2 separate regions of the Homo sapiens genome follow, and region 1 is linked to region 2. The links are contacts of gene promoters, found by promoter capture Hi-C in blood cells and fetal thymus (Javierre and others, 2016). All regions are on one chromosome and are shown on one strand. The core of a region is centred on a gene start or on the middle of the fragment in contact, and the rest is flanking DNA. Distances in the headings are between cores, read along the strand shown. Region 1 overlaps DNAJC16 (DnaJ heat shock protein family (Hsp40) member C16). Region 2 holds the start of SLC25A34 (solute carrier family 25 member 34).

The links. The method cuts DNA at HindIII sites, captures the fragments that hold promoters and counts their contacts. A CHiCAGO score of 5 or more calls a contact.
Region 1: a contact is called between a fragment that was not itself captured here and the fragment with the promoter of SLC25A34 in region 2, in 1 of 17 cell types (endothelial precursors). The highest score is 6.7, in endothelial precursors.

The regions. Positions count from the first base shown.
Region 1 is chr1:15,562,662-15,566,387 of GRCh38, reverse strand. DNAJC16 (DnaJ heat shock protein family (Hsp40) member C16) reads right to left here. Exons shown (of 15, transcript NM_015291.4): 10 at 2,277-2,459; 11 at 2,029-2,105; 12 at 389-469; 13 at 208-306. Among named protein-coding and RNA genes, the nearest start is that of AGMAT, 21 kb to the left of the region's middle. The HindIII fragment of the contact is 2,945 bases long and covers 231-3,175 here.
Region 2 is chr1:15,734,228-15,737,507 of GRCh38, reverse strand. It overlaps SLC25A34 (solute carrier family 25 member 34), which reads right to left and starts at 1,250. Exons shown (of 5, transcript NM_207348.3): 1 at 645-1,250. The coding sequence starts at 1,022. It overlaps PLEKHM2 (pleckstrin homology and RUN domain containing M2), which reads right to left. Exons shown (of 20, transcript NM_015164.4): 20 at 2,739-3,280. RefSeq lists enhancers at 1,384-2,150, 2,151-2,916. The HindIII fragment of the contact is 4,526 bases long and covers 1-3,280 here.

The sequences.
Region 1 (3,726 bases), core at 454-2,953, 170 kb after region 2:
CTTCATTATGAAATCTAAGGCATCTAAACACCTACAGGGTCTTAGTAAACACAAATCACAGTGACTTTTCCCTGTAGCCACAGTTTACATGGGAGGAGGTGCATGAGAGTTCTTCTCTACACTCTATGTTCCAATGCTGCGTTATCAGATGACAGGATCTGGGGGGCAGGTGCCGGGGAGGTGAGTCTGGTGTTTTGTTAGAGAAACCTGCTGTTTTCTTTGGTGAAGCTTGGCTCAGTTTTCCCAGTCTTCTCTTGGGCTTCCTCTTTTTCTGGAGGGCTTGACTCTCGCTCATCATTAGAGTCGCTAAAGTAAGAAAAAAGGAGTTTTACAAAAAAAGTGTCAACACCAACCATGGTGGTGCACCGAGAAGCCACAGGACATTTACCTGAAAGCCTGAACGATGACAGTGCCGAAGAGGATGAAGAGGGCAGAGAAGATCAGGGACAGCAGGGGCATCATTTCCCTCCTAAAACCAAATTAACAAACTATTAGCTCAAGTTAAAATTTCTTCTCTCCAGCTAAAAAAAGATAAAATAAAAATCCCAAACCAAAAACTCTTCACACCAATAAACGCTTACTAATTTCAGGCAAACAGAGCTTTTCTTGGCGGGTGGAGGTGGTGGAGGGGAAGGTAGAGATTGCTCAGTGTTCTAATTCACAGACAGCTTATTCTAAAAGTTTGATTTTGTATCTCAGTATAATAGGCTATGCTCAATAAGTTCTGCATGAGGAAACAATAAAAGGGATAATAAAGGACTTAAGGTGTAAACATGGAAGAATTTTCTGACATTGTGGAATTATTTCCTCAACTTTACTGATTTTTTTCTGGCCAGAAAAATTCAGATGTAGCCCAGAGGGGTGGAGTAGGGAGATAAAATTGATCTTTCAAGATTTCATCTAGGACTGGTGTTCTGAAATTTTATGTACCTACCAACACCCATCAAAGGCTGTCATTTGTCAGGTGCTGTGTTGGGTGCCAGGAATCACAAACACGAATGAGATGTGGTTCTGTCCTTCAGGGGCTCATGGTCTCATCAGTAGGTGGGAGTGGGTATCCCTCTTGAGGTTAATTCACTCATTCCTTTTACATCTATACACTGGACTCCACGTGTGTCAGGCCCTGTGCTGGGCACCAGAGGTTCCCTGATGAAGAGACAGTCCCAGGCTCTGCTGCCCAGAATGGCAGCCATGGGTGATCCTTTCCTAGCCAGTGGGAAAGGGTCAGTCAGCCAATATAAAAAAAGGGAAGTGGCCGGGCATGGTGGCACACGCCTGTAATCCCAGCACTTTGGGAGGCTGAGGTGGGTGGATCACCTGAGGTCAGGAGTTCGAGACCAGCCTTACCAACATGGTGAAACACTGTCTCTACTAAACATACAAAAATTAGCTGGGCATGGTGGTGGGTGCCTGTAATCTCAGCTTCTCGGGAGGCTGAGACAGGAGAATCGCTTGAACCTGGGAGGCAGAGGTTGCAGTGAGCTGAGATCGTGCCACTGCATTCCAGTCTGAGTGACAGAGTGAGACTCTGTCTCAAAAAAAAATAAAAAATAAAAAATGTCCGGGAGCAGTGGTTCACACCTGTAAGCCCAGCACTTTGGGAGGCCGAGGCGGGTGGATCACCTGAGGTCAGGAGTTTGAGACCAGCCTGACCAACATGGTGAAACCCTATCTCTACTAAAAATACAAAAATTAGCCAGGCATGGTGACAGGTGCCTGTAATCCCAGCTACTCAGGAGGCTGAGGCAGGAGAATTGCTTGAACCTGGGAGGCGGAGGTTGCAGTGATCCCCAGATTGAGCCTGGGGGACAAGAGCAAGACTTTGTCTCAAAAAAAAAAAAAGTAAAAAATAAAAAAAAGGGAAGTTACTGAAAGAAAGAAAAAGGGGAATAGAAAATGTGTAAACGTTCTTCCACTTGCCCCATCAAGTGTACCTTGAAATTTAATAATGATGAACTCTTTTCAAAAGAAAAACAGTGATATCAGTATTAACAGAGAAAAAGAAATTCAGCCTGGCAATATCCCTACCAGTTGTTGTGAAAAATGCTATCCCAGCAGTCTGAGATGTAGTCAGAAGCAGAGTAGAACCATCGAAGGAGAAAAACCTATGTAGAGAGAAAATGGATGATGGTCAGGACTAAAGCCGGAAGGGAGAGTCCCTCTACCCTGCAACACAGTGCTGCTGCTGGACCTCTGCTCTGAGCAGAAATCCGCCACCAGCACTGTGTACTCACAAGCCCTCCTGGTGTCCCACCCTTCCCAGCCCCGATGCTCACAGGGGCAAGTTCATCGGTCAGGTCAGGAAGCACTGCTTCAGAGGACAGAAGAGCTGGATCTTTACGCAGCTGGTCGAGATAGCCCAAGAGGATAAATTTGTCACTCTCACTCCCAATCCAAGGGTCTTCCAGGGTTTTATACACCACCCTTCCTGCTGTGTTGCGCCTTTCTAAAATAGACACCTGGAAGAAAAGTAGAGAAAAAACATCAGAAGTTTCAAAAGCATGGTTAAGTTACAGTTGTTTGCTTTTTTTTTTTTTTTTGACGGAGTCTTGCTTTGTCGCCCAGGCTGGAGTGCAGTGGCGTGATCTTGGCTCACTGCAAGCTCCGCCTCCCGGGTTCACGCCATTCTCCTGGCTCAGCCTTCCCAAGTGGCTGGGACTAGAGGCACCTGCCACCATGCCTGGCTAATTTTTGGTATTTTTTTTTTTTTTTTTTTTTTTTTTTAGTAGAGATGGGGTTTCACCATGCTAGCCAGGATGGTCTCGATCTCCTGACCTCGTGATCTGCCTGCCTTGGCCTCCCAAAGTGCTGGGATTACAGCTGTGAGCCACCACACTTGGCCCAGTTGTTTGTTTTTTGAGACAGAGTTTCGCCCTTGTCTCCCAGGCTGGAGTGCAATGGTGCGATCTTGGCTCACTGCAACCTCTGCCTCCCAGGTTCAAGCAATTCTCGTGCCTCAGCCTGCTGAGTAGTTGGGACTACAGACAGGTGTGCACCACACCAGCTAATTTTTGTATTTTTAGTAGAGATGAGGTTTCACCATGTTGATTAGGCTGGTCTCAAACTCCTAGCCTCAAGTGATCCACCCGCCTCGGCCTCCCAAAGTGCTGGGATTATAGGTGTGAGCCACCGCGTTCGGCCTAAGAAATAACTTTTATGGTGACTTTCCTAAGCTTTTGTTAAAAGTTAAAGCTCTTTTTTCTCAATAGACTTTGCTCTATAACCTTGACTTAATATTAATGGAAACCTTTGTTTTTTAGAGAGATTTTCCATGATTGCGAAAATGATGAAAAGTCAGAGGAGAATTTCTTGTTTCTGTAGGAAGTGATGACAATGCAGGAGAAAGGCAGGAGAGATCAACCAGGATGAAGTTAAAGAGGCAGAGGGGGGCAGAAATTTCCAGAGCACATTACCAGTGGCCTAAGGATTTGTAAAATCTAGGATCTAGGATGCTGCAAGACCAGACTTGCCTTAGTAAAAAACTGGTGAAAAGCACTGATGACCTTTACCGTTCACTGATAGAAAACATGGTTTCTGTGGGGGCCTGAGGCTGACATCCAGAATGTAAAAAGACCAGGTCAAAAACTGTTTTAAGAGTAGGCTTTAGGCCAGGAGCAGTGGCTCATGCCTGTAATCCCAGCACTTTGGGAGGCGGGAGGATTGCCTGAGCTCGGGAGTTTGAGACCAACCTGGGCAACATGTCGAAACCCTATCTCTACAAAAAAA
Region 2 (3,280 bases), core at 1-2,500:
AGCTCTGCCAACTGGGCTCAAGTGATTCTCCTGCCTCAGCCTCCCCGGTAGCTGGGATTACAGGCATGCATCACCACGCCCAGCTAATTTTTGTACTTTTTAGCAGAGACAGGGTTTCACCATGTTGACCATGCTGGTCTCAAACTCCTGACCTCAGGTGATCTGCCCGCCTCGGCCTCCCAAAGTGCTGGGATTACAGGCGTGAGCCACTGCACCCAGCCAAGGGTAGCTTTCTTCAAAACATTTTTTAATTTTTTATTTGTTTTGGGTGGCCCTGAGGCCCCCCTGCAGAGTGCACACGAGGCGGAGGCCCTCAAGGGTAGCTTTTATTCTTATCGTACATGAGGCCATGCGGGAAGAGAAGTAACCAAGCCAGGATTTGAGCCAGCACATCTGACACCCTCTGCCCCCTCCCCTGGCTCAGGACCAGTGGGGCAGGGACCGCAGGGGAGCATGGATCAGAGCAAGGCCCTGGGCCAAGGGGCAGATTCCAGGCTTGGGCTAGGATGTTCCAGGGAGCAGCCCCACCCCGGCTGCCCCACCCCACCCAGGTCCACTGAGCCCTGCCTTTGGAGGCTGCAGGGCCCCTGTGGGAGCTGGGTCATGGGATGGTGGAGGGTGGACGATGGAGACAAGCCACTCACCAGGTAAGCAGGGCTCCCCACGAAGGCTCCCAGTGCCCCCGCCACGGCTCCCGCAACCACGGTGCCACCTGGTTGCTGCGTGAGGCCAGCCTGGCACGCCAGGCTGTAGCAGTAGAAACGAACGCCATTCATGAGGCCTTGGTACAGAAGGCCGGCAGCCAGCCCCTTCTGCAGGCCCCACAGCCCGTCTGCTCGGGCCACAGCAGCGACAGAGGCTATGAAGCCATGGTAGGGCCGTGGGTAGGTGCCCCGGGCCTGCAGCTCCCCCTGCAGCTGCAGCCGCGTCTTCACCACCTCCAGGGGGTTGGTGAAGACACAGGCCAGGCAGCAGGCAGAAGCACCCAGCACCAGGTCCACTGCTGGGGGCACCGTCTCCATGGCCTCCGGGCCAGTGGCCTTCTGTGCCCGGGTCAGGGGCACGGCACAGGCCCTGTGGTGGTGGCGTTTAGGCTGTCTGTAACCTCGCAGGGCTACGGGGCTGGGGTTTGCAGGGGACCGAGGCCATGTCTAGAGGGTAAGGGTCCTGGTCTGACAGGCCTGTGGCTGCCTGGTGTCCCTGGTCTATCTCAGCAGTCCACCTGCTCTGCTCAGCTGTTCCAGCGGTCTGCCGGAGCCTGGGACGCGCCTCCGCCAGCTGCGACCAATCCCAGCTGCCTCTGTGCCCACACCTGCCAGCCGAGGGCGGGCCTGGACCCTGGGATCTGGGGGAAAGGTCACTTGGGACTGGAGGGAGAGCGTGGATAGGGAGAAGGTGCCAACCAGCCCAGGCACCTCCTCCTGGCCTCCCTCTGGCCCTGGGCAAAGGGCTGGCACCCCTGCCTTGCCTCTGGCTTAGCCTGTCCAGCTTTGGCAGAGCCCTAGGCAGGGGGCAAGTGACTGGGAGGTCCCTGGCATGGGGTACACGGCCAACTCCGCCCCTGCCCCACCCTGCCCCTGATATGCCCCTGGTGACTGACTTCCCCTTTCCAGGACTCAAGTCTTCAGTCTGGCTCCCACCGTCTATAGGCCCATGCTCAGCAGGGTCAGAAGTAGAGAAGGGCTCTGGAGCCCTGGGGAGCTGATTGGAATCCCAGGTGTGGCTCTCATGTGTGACCCCTGGGCAAGTCACTTCCTCTCAGAGCTTCAGTTTCTCTCATTTGTAAAATGGAGATACTGACATCCACTCCAGAAGGTTCTGTGGAGGACTGGCGATGAGAAGAGTGTGCCTAGGTCAGTGCTGCACCCGATAAAGGCACCCGCATCGCCTGCTCGCCCCCACCCCCACTGCCTCTGGCTCCTATGCCCCCCTCGCTGCTCCCAGGACTTCAGGGCACCTGGGTGAGTAGGACTTGAGGAGTGACCTTGGCTGGTAAGGACTTGCTGCCAGGCCTGCCCTGGGATGCCCTTTGTGCCCGCTGAGAAGAGAACGCCACCTGGGCCAGCTGTCAGGTGTGTCTGCTCAGGCTGGGGCCGGTACCAACATGCCCACCTTGGCCTCTGCCCCCAGACAGCTCTCTCCTGCCAGGCCACCCTCAGTCACCCAAGGCCCAGTCCAAACTAGAGGCAGAACCACCCAAGTTGGAGTCCCACACCCACCTCCCAGGGCCCACCCCTTCCCTCCCAGGCCCTTGAGGCAGCAATGCTGAGTGGCTTGAGGGCCTCAGGCTCCCGGCCTGGCAGGGTTGTCACCCTCTGGCCAGCCCTGGAGGGGACGGCGCAGCAAGAGGCAGCGAGGACAGCTTGGATTCTCCTGGGTTTGGGCACTCACCCCCGGGGCTGTGGAGGCAGGAGCGTCCTGCCCCGGGGTGGGCTGCAGATGGTGGGCGGCGGTGCAGACGTGCCCTGGGGCTTGAGCTGGTGGCTGCTCCTCCCCTGGCTGCTGCAGCAAACAGGAACAGGACGGAGGGCAAAGGTCGGGCCGAGAAACTCCCAGGGCCTGAGGGTCTGCAGACGGTGAGTCCGCCCGGCAGCGGTGGCTGATCTGGTTCTGCATGTCCCGTGTGTCCCTTGTGTCAGGCACAGGGCAGATGATGGAGGAAGGTTTGCAGAAAAGGGCCCAAGGGATTTGGAGAGCTCCCTTCCCCTACCCTGCTCAAAAAGGGCCAGTGACAAGCCTTGGCAATATAACATGTCTATTTTATTTTAAAAAACAAAACCCAAACCACCTGACCCCTTCCCCAGGAGGCTCTTGACGAAACTCTAGGGAAGGGCCTGGCTCCAGCCAAGCAGGGGACAGTCAGAAGATGTCAACATGGATGCCAGGCTGGTGGGCTCCGCCCTTCTCCAAGCCCCCCATCCACCCCCTTTGCTCCTCGGTGCTACAGGCACTGCCGGGTTGAGGGGACAGGCAGGGCAGGACTGTGGGCATGCAGAGCCTCCTGGCAGCCAGGGAGGGCTGCCCGCCCCCCTGCATCTGGCGAGGCAGGCAGCTGTGTGCGCAGTGATGGAGCTAGGAGGAGGAAACATGCGCAGACACCCCGTGTTCCCGCTTCCCCACGTGGCCAGGAGAGTGTTCAAACACGAACAAGGATGGCTGGGCACTCAGGGCCCCAGCCCCCAACCCAGGAGAGGAAGAGGGGGGTCCCGCCCTCCTGGTTCTTTTGTTCGTCCTTAGATGGATGGTGTTCTCGGTGCCACTCGGCAGAAATTCTGCAGAC